2 separate regions of the Homo sapiens genome follow, and region 2 is linked to region 1. Evidence: promoter capture Hi-C in 16 types of primary human blood cells and fetal thymus (Javierre and others, 2016). All regions are on one chromosome and are shown on one strand. Each heading gives the region's core, a stretch centred on a gene start or on the middle of the fragment in contact. The rest is flanking DNA. Distances are from core to core; before and after follow the strand shown. Region 1 holds the start of KIF26A (kinesin family member 26A). Region 2 has its middle 100 kb from the start of LINC02691.

The links. The method cuts DNA at HindIII sites, captures the fragments that hold promoters and counts their contacts. A CHiCAGO score of 5 or more calls a contact.
Region 2: a fragment that was not itself captured here is called in contact with the fragment with the promoter of KIF26A in region 1 in 1 of 17 cell types (endothelial precursors); the score reaches 5.5 in endothelial precursors.

What each region holds. Positions count from the first base shown.
Region 1 is chr14:104,136,225-104,140,690 of GRCh38, reverse strand. KIF26A (kinesin family member 26A) reads right to left here and starts at 2,104. Exons shown (of 15, transcript NM_015656.2): 1 at 1,927-2,104; 2 at 1,403-1,648. The coding sequence starts at 1,968. It overlaps KIF26A-DT (KIF26A divergent transcript), which reads left to right and starts at 2,062. Exons shown (of 3, transcript NR_158217.1): 1 at 2,062-3,161; 2 at 3,449-3,824. RefSeq lists a silencer at 2,936-3,105 and enhancers at 2,802-3,513, 3,514-4,225. The HindIII fragment of the contact is 14,398 bases long and covers 1-4,466 here.
Region 2 is chr14:104,325,806-104,330,271 of GRCh38, reverse strand. No RefSeq gene overlaps it. Among named protein-coding and RNA genes, the nearest start is that of LINC02691, 100 kb to the right of the region's middle. The HindIII fragment of the contact is 3,647 bases long and covers 239-3,885 here.

The DNA of each region.
Region 1 (4,466 bases), core at 855-3,354:
TGAGGAACCTAGAATCCACCAGGGACTAGTATCACCTGCAGCCCTCTCCACTAGGACCCCTGGCCTGCCCGTGACCAGGAGCCCCCTCCCCTCCACGAGTCCATGCCAGGACCATGGCCCCAGGGCCAGGCAGCATCAGCAGTCCAAGCCCACTCCAAGAATGAGGAGACCAGCTCAATCTTAATGCCCCTCCTGTCTCTGGCGTGTTTCCCCTAATGGGGCAGCAAGATGGGCCTTTAGCTCTGGCTGGCCCTCTCCAGGGGGCCCTCAAGGGTCTCCTGCTACCTTTTAAACTAGATACAGGCCACTGGGGCACAGAGTATGGCCAAGGCTGCAGCCTGTCCAGAGCAGAGGACAGGGCGGGTCCAGCCCCACCCCAGGACAGGCCCACAGGCGCCTGGCCTGAGCCAGAGAGAGGCTACAGCAATCCTATCCCTCGCCGAGACTCCAGAGAGCCCGGAGACGGTGCCCAGGACAGAAACCAGACTGGTACCCTGCCCCACCCTGCCCTGCCCCAGACAGGGCAGTCAGGGTCTCAGCTCACTCCAACCCCCACAGCCCTTAGAGAACTATATTTAGATTCAATGGGGATTATGCGGACTTCCCAGGAACTCTTTCATAAAGGCTGAAGGCCCGGCAGCGGGCTTCCTCTGGAGACCCCCACCCGCCCCCAGCCTTTGCAAACTTCCAGCATGCATTGTTCCTGGAACAATGGTCCCTGCTCCCTCCAAAGCCGGCAGGCCCACTGGCTGGAAATCCAGGAGAACCCCTCCCCTGCAAGCACCTGCCCCTGGGGCTGGAGCCTGGGGAACCCAGAGGGCCCCGACTCAATTCCCCATGGGCGGCCACTGCCTCAGTCTATCCCAGGAGGTATGGGACAACAGTTCTTATCCTTGAGGCTGGGAGAGGAGTAGGCAGGGACCCCCCAGCTGCTGTGGCCCACCCTTTCACCTGCCAGGCCCCCCGGCCCCAGGTATGTAATTTCCAGACACCTGGCTGGGGGCCCAGGTGCCCCAAGGGCCACAATGCACCAAATAACCTCTCCCTGCTGGTAGGGCTGGAGCTGTCCCGCCCTGGGTGGAGTCCCTGCCATCCGCTCTCTCCCCTCCTCCTCCCACACAAACCTGCGTTCCAGCTGTGGGACATCTGGGCTGGGGGAGGAACGCCAGCCCAGGCCCCTCCCATCCGAGGCAGCAGGGCCCCTCGGGCTGAGCTCCCTAGCTCACACATGGTGTTACAGACCGGGAAACTGAGGCCCGCAGAAGGGAAGTCCTGGCTGATAACTCTTTGTGGAAACAGCAGCAGGGAAGGAGTGGAACCCTGCTTCCCTCCAAGCCCCAAGTTCTACCCAAGTTCGGCGTGGCCCTGCTCGGAGGGGTCGGCCTAAGGAAGTGTCACTTACCCGGAGGGTGGTCCCGGGCCCGCTGACCAGCTTCCACGCCTGTCGCTTGAGCTCCACCAGCTTCGTGTGGCAGTGGCGGCACCAGCCGCCTCCGCCGGCCGAGTGGCCCTGCTCTGGGCCGGCCCCGGCGCCTTCGGGAGCAGGGCGGCTGCCGCATGGGTCCTGGTCGGGCCCGGCGGGTAGCCTCTTTCGGGGGGACACCTCCAGCAGCGGCGGCGGCTCGCGGGCCGGGCCGCCCTCGGCCACCTGCAGGGTGTGGGGGCGGAAGCGGACAGTGAGCCTGGGACGTCCGTCGGATCCAGACCCCTGCGCGCCCTGCCCCAGCGTGACGCTCTTGCCAAAGTTAGGAGCCCTGGGCACGACCCTGGCGCTCACCCACTCCCTCCATCCCCGGAGGTCCCGCCTGCGGGTCCGCTACCCTCAGCAGGAGGCCCGGCCCCCAGGGATCCAGCGCACACCGCGAGTATCTTCGCCGTCCCGGGCCCCCGCCGCCCGCCTCCCTCTCCAGGCCGGGCCGCGCGTACCGCGGGCTGCGCAGCGCACAGAGGGACGCCGCGGCCGACCATGGCCGGGGCGCGGGAAGAGCCCGGCAGGCGCTCCCGGCCACGCTGGCTCTCCGGGGGCGCCGCGGCTACGTGATCCGGCCCCGAGGCGCCCCCATGGCCCGGCCCAGCCGCTCGGAAGTTCGCAGAGCCTGCGAGTGTCGCGAGGAGCGCGGTGGCTCCGGTGGGCGCGCTCGGGAGGCGAGGGCGGGGCCGGGGAAGGGCGGGGCTCGGGCTCCCGGGGCGGGCGGCGAGGGGCGGGAGCCCAGAGAGTGCCCCGCCCTTGCCCAGTGCTGGGCGGCGCGTGGGGGGGGTAGGGTCCCCGCTTCCCCACGCGGCCCCGCGCACTCCAAGGACCCCAACCTGTTAGGTGAGTCCCTGCCCCGGGGAGGGGCGCTGGGGGCGGCGGCGAGGATCTAGTTGCGCGCGCGCATGCGCCTCCCGCCCCTCTCCCGGGACACCAGGGCTGCGCGTCTCCCAGGAGGCGCCGACGCCCCTCCCTCTACAGGCGGGAAAACTGAGGCTGCGGAGGGGACGCTCTTGCCCAAGGCCCACGGCGAGGTGGGCCGAGGAAGGGGCGGGACCCCGGCCCCGAGACTCCCAGGCGCCTTTCCAGCAAGCCCAGCGTACTCTGCGTGTCGCGGGCCACTTTAGGTCTAACTGTCGCGCGTGGGTTAGTGTCGCCGCGGTGTGCGCCTCGAGCCGGGCAGCGACCGCGCCGGCGTATCTGTGCCTCGGCGCGTCTGCGAACGGCACGTGTCTTTACAGCCGCGCGTGTGCCCGCAAGTGGGTGTGCGCGCCGTGCCGCCCGGGAAGCGGGAGGTCCTGCGGGCGTGCGCCGGACCTGTTGTCAGCAGGCCTGGCAGATGGGAACTCAGCTCCGGAATTAATTGCTTGTTTGTCTCCGGCTGGGAGGCCGCCCCCCCGCCCTTCCCTGGCGACCAGTTGCTCTGTGCCTAGCCGGGCCCCAAATGTCGCCGGCATCCGCGGCCGCAGGCAGCTCCGGGCCAGGCTCCGGGTCAGCCCCAAAGCCCGGGTCAAGCCAGGCGGGCGCGGCGGGCGGGCTCCCCGTGACGCGAGTGCCCCCTGCCGGCCGCTGCGCACACGGCTCCGAGACTGGGGAGACAGCGCCGCGCGTCCCAGGCCTGAGGCGCACTCGGAAACTCCGAAGGTCGTGACCCGGCGGAGACCAGGACACGCGGCTGCCGGCACATACGGTGAGGCCTTCGCAGAGACTCAGTACGTCAAAGTGACCCTTTCCGTTTTGCCCACCCCCTTTTACTTGGATAAGCCTCCCCGCCCACGCACGCACTCCCCAGAAAGTGGGGTGGGTGATCCCCTCCCGGCTTTCCGGGTCGTTGATGACCTTAGGGGTTCGAAAACGCAAGGGGGTATGGAATAAAGTGGCAGGGGCTCTCCACTCTTTCTGAGATCCGTAAGCCTGCAGTCGCTTTCCACCCAGCCTGGGGGGCCGGAAGCGCTTCCCCTACCCGTCTCTTCGCAGCCTGGAGAATGAAAACGGGCGTCAGCCCACATCTGGATCTGGGTACTGAGGACAACACCCAAACCCCACCCCGCACTGCCGGCAGACAGCACCGCCTCCCGCCGCTCCACTGCTCCGGGACACACACTCTCTATATCCCGTCCCCCCACCCACACACGCAACACAGAAGCACGCAGCGGTCGGGAGCACCGGTCCTGCGCCCCTGGCCAGCCACACCCGCAACTTCAGCGCTTCTACCGCCGCGGCGCTTCGGGAAGCACAAGCTCACATCCCATATCCGCAGAACACGGGGTGCACAAGGCTGGAGTCACCTCGGGGGCTCACGATCAGTCAGGGGCCCCGACCCCCTACTTCGCCCATCCTAGCAAGGCGCAAGGTGAGCCCGAGAATCCCTGCGCTGCGCTCTCCGCCCTAGCCACAGCCTCCGGGTGGGTCCGGTTGGGACACAGCCTTGAAGGCAGAGGGAGACTTGGACAACGCTAATGGGGGAAAGTGCGGCAGCGAGTCCCAGCCCGGGCTGCGGGACGCGGCTCCGGACCTGCCGTCTCCTTCCCGGCGCAGCACCCCCGGCCGCGCGAGCCGCGCGGCAAAGTAACGGGACGGCGCCTACGCCGCCCGCCCCCCTCCCGACAGCCCTCACCTTGCCTCGTCGCCGCAGGAGGTGGCTGGTGAAGCCCAGGATGATCTCCGAGTCCAGGCAGAGCGCCCCCATCTCCAGCAGGCTGGGAGCCTTGCGGGGCGCGCCGCGGGGCGGCTCGGGCGGCTGGGGCAGCGCCATGGAAGAGGGAAGCGCGGGGAGCGGCCCCTAGTGCCTCCCGCCACCGCCGCCCCGCCCGCGCGTTCACTGGCCGCGCGCCCGCCGCCGCCGCGCCCCGCACCGCGCAGGGCCGCCCGTCAAGCCCCCGGTCCTCCGCGCCCCGCGCCCCCGAGCCCTGCGCTCGCTCCGCGCCGCGCGCCCCCGCGCTCCGGCCCCGCCCGCCTGCGCCGACAGCGCCCCTTCCGCCCCGGCGGCGAGCCA
Region 2 (4,466 bases), core at 813-3,312, 190 kb before region 1:
GAACAGGAGGCACATGCAGTCACCAATCCTGGCAATTATGAAACACAGCCAGTGTCCTCTACTCCAAGGGCAAAGAATGTTCCTTGATTAGGTCCAGCTCTCCTCCTTGGGAGTGGTTTTCTAATTTATTGTTCTCCTTTGTTCTTGGCTACACCCTCTGAGTTTTATTTTCTTTTCCTTAAGAAGTGACCCACATTTGTAGCTGAGTAATTTCTCAACCTTTTTCTTCCCAGAAGCTTCTTTTCATTTTAAACCGTCTTCTGTGGTCTAAGCTGACAGTGTTTTTACCAATACAACTCTCTTTAAAACTTTGTGGATTTCTTATGAATCTAATTGAAGTTTACACCATATCTCAAAAGCCACATGCATAATTATTTTTTGAGACAGATCTTTCCCTGTCTTGGGCCATGTATGGCTGTTATGGAACAATCCTGGATTCTTAAAATCCCTTTTGTGTGGCTGAGAGGGCCTATTAGGTACTGCCATAAGTCTTTCAAAAGCCTTAACAAAGGATCTTACAGATACATCCTTAATTTGATCTTTGGCCCTGGCTTCATTTCACTTTGCATATTTTTACTAGTTGGAGAGAAAGGGGATGAGTGACAGTTTTATTTTCCACACAAGCTAGTCCTGGGCCTTTTGTCTTTAAGTTCCGATTGCAGATTGAATGATCCCTTCTCCAGCTCACCTTTGTCTTTCTTTCTTTCTTTCTTTCTTTCTTTCTTTCTTTCTTTCTTTCTTTCTTTCTTTTTTTGAGACTGAGTCTTGCTCTGTCACCAGGCTGGAGTGCAGTGGCAGTGGAGCAATCTCGGCTCATTACAATCTCCAACCAGGTTCAAGCGATTCTCTTGCCTCAGCCTCCCAAGTAGCTGGAACTACAGGCGTGTGCCACCACATCCAGCTAATTTTTGTATTTTTCGTAGAGACGAGCTTCACCATATTGGCCAGAATGGTCTCGATCTCTTGACCTCGTGATCCGCCCACCTCGGCCTCCCAAAGTGCTGGGATTACAGGCGTGAGCCACTGCACCTGGCCCAGCTCACCTTTCTTTCTGTATCTTATCACATGTGTGAGATGGAGCTGATGGGCACTTTTGACATTCTGTCCAGAGGCAAGACCTTCCACCGGATCCTACACGTTCATAAGGTATATCTTTTACCTTCCAAGTTACCATAGGTGACAGTTTGGCCACTTATTCCTAAGTGACAAAGGTCACTGTTTCTCCAGCCTCCAAAGGTCCCTTTTCCCCATCCCAGCCATTACCCACCCTTGGGCCCAAAGCCAACGTCACATGTCTCAGGTGCTTGTCAAGGCACCAGTCCACTGGTGGTACCAATGTCTGAATCACTTTTCTATTTGCTACACCACAGACATGCTGAAACATGGTGGCATCAAGTAACAATGCTTTATACGTCTCACAATGATGGGGGTCGACACCGGCTCCCTTGCTGTCCTCACAGGGGCTTCCCACCTGCCTGCAGCCAGGTGAAGGCCCAGGCACCAGGCCCAGCTGGAGCAGCTGGAAAAGCTGGGCCCACTCTGGATAAAAGAGCTTTTCATCACAGCCTTCTTCATAGCCTGGCGGTCTCAGGATCCTGGAGAGTGGAAAACAGGAACTGTAAGATCTCTTGAGGGCTTGCCTTCAAGGTCACACCACATCATGTCTGCTGCACCTTCCAGAACAAAGCAAATAAGATCAGTCCGGATGCACAACATGGGAAAACAGACTCTCCCTCTTGACAGGGACAGAGCAAAAATCTCATGGCCAAATTGGCTCCCCCACGTTCCAATACAGTCGCACAGATCATGTGCAGTGAGAGAAAGCAGGTAAGTCATCACGCAGATGTCATTAGGAACCAAGATTTTCAGCATAAGAGGAGAGAGATAGAAATTAAAAAATCAAAGAAGCTGCACAAACACTGTAATCTTACATTTAAATGGGAAATATTAGTATGAATTCATGATGTATTTTTCTCTTGCCAAAAAAACCCAAAAAATAAATGCATTTCTCAGCTTTGGCCACAGGAAAGGTTTAGAAGGAATGACTTGCCTAGCAGCCGCAATCCCCTTAGCTCCCGACTGTGACCATGAAATGCCATTTTCCACTAAAGGAAACAGGGCTGCCTAGAGAAATGGCCACTGTGAGACCTGGAGCAGGAAATGTGCAAGATGAATCTCGAACATCTTGTCATACAGGAAAATAAACAGCCCTCAGGATGACCAGGTTGAGCGAGAGAGTCTGGAGGCAACCAGGATGCCTCCCTCCAGAGGAGGATGGCACGATATTCACATCGCAAAAGTCCACGTCTACGTTAGGGGCCAAACTGTGTCTCCCAGAGTCATATGTTGAAGTCCTCATCCCCAGTACCTCAGAATGTGACCATAGTTTGGAGAAAATTTTTAAAGACACAATAAAGTTAAAATGAAATCTTCAGGGTGGGCCCTAATCCCATCTGACTGATGTCCTCTTAGGAAGTGATTGCGGCCCAACTACGCACAGGGGGATAACTGTGAGCAGAGACATGGTGAGGAAGGACCATCGCAAGCCGCAGAGACAGGCCACAGCAGAGCCTCCCCCGCAGCCTACGAAGGAGCCAGCCCTGCCGACACCTGGACCTCGGGCTTCCAGCCTCCAGAGCTGTGGGACAAGACACAGCTGTCATTTGGTCTGTGGCACTTTGTTACACAGCCCCAGGAAATGAATACAATTTATACCTTTATACATCTCATGTATGACTGCAATGAACTGAAACCAAATTAAATGATACCATAAGGACAAAACACTGAAGAAAAAACTCACGGCCCCTTTGGAAGGACCACGGCACCATCTCATCCCTGTGGACAGAGCTACATGGGTGAGGATCAGGTGTTGGCTGCCTTTTCTGTGTGAACTGTCTGTCAAAGTCATCAAATCATTGGCAAGGAAAATGTCCCTAATGGAAGAAGGCCAGGAGGTAGCTGCAGCGGGTTAGAATGGTGACTAGCGTCACCCCTGGTGGCTGCTCACACCACGGTGAGAAGCCCATGAGAAACCTTATAAAGGTGGAGCCAGGCTAGTGGCCCCAGCCGGCAGCCCCATCCCAGTGGCGTGTGCAGTGACACAGCAGGTGTGTGTGGCTGCTTAGCCAGGCTAGTGGCCCCAGCTGGCAGCCCCATCCCAGTGGCGTGTGCAGTGACACAGCAGGTGTGTGTGGCTGCTTAGCCAGGCTAGTGGCCCCAGCCGGCAGCCCCATCCCAAGGGTGTGTGCAGTGACACAGCAGGTGTGTGCGGCTGCTTAGCCCAGCCTCAGGGCTAAGCACAGATTCGTGGCACTGCTGGGCAGAAGTGCAGGGTGAAGGGCACCATGAGGCTCTCCGCATGGACGCAAACGACCGTGCAGAGGGCAGGAAGTTCCACAGGCAAAGACACTGATTTCTTCAACACATACATAGCCAGACCAGCAAAGAGGTTTGGAGCCACTCAGAGCCATAAGAAGACAGGCGCCATGAATCGGCCACATCTATGCAGGAACTCTTCTGGGTCCCAAGACCAAAGTTTAAATATGGAATAATTTGCTTTAAAATAACCCAGTGGGGGCCTGGTGGTGCTCATTATTGAAGCTGGGGGATGGGCATGTGAGCATCCAGATACCACACTCTCTCATTACATTGCTTCTGTGTCTTTTTTAAAGCTCCCTATTAAAACATTTAGAAAACACAATTTTAAAAAATCTGTTGTGAGACAGGACACAGGTGCTGAGTGAGGCAACACGTTCCAGAAGGCAGGGCAGGGGGCAGGGAGCCAGTACAGGCCAGGGGCTCCCTGGTGTCAGCAGGGGTGGTGGAGACTCACTGGGCCACTGAGACCTGGACCCCAGAGGGACCCCAGGGAAACAGAGCAAAGCTTGTTCCTGAAGCTCCACCCACAAAAAAGGATGGACAAGCAGGTGCCAATGGGAGAACCCCTTGAAGAAATTCTGAGGGTTCAAAGCAGCCCAGGTACATATTGGGTGAGGCCAGGCTGGAGAGGCTGCCCGGGTGTGGACGCCTTCCTCTTCCAGAGGAGCAGGGCGCTGGAGGCTGTGTTGGGTCACTGAAAAACACGTCTCTACCTAGAGCAACTCGGAGGCCCAGGAACGACAAAGATTCCAGGAAGGACCCTTGAGATTCCTCCATACACACCAGGCCCCAGTGGAACATTTGGTGTTCCCCTCCATGCATGTTCCTTTGGGGGTGTGCATGCACACACTCACACCCATGAATAATCACACTCACACTAACCGTAATGCATATTCACACTGACACATGCATTCACTCATACGCAGGCATAGTCACACACTCATGAATAATCACACTCACACTGACAATGTGTATTCGCACTGAAACCTGCATATTTACACTCACCCATGCATAATCACACTCATACGCACGCATAATCACACTCACGCTCATGCCTATCCACACTCACACTCATGCAGAATGACACT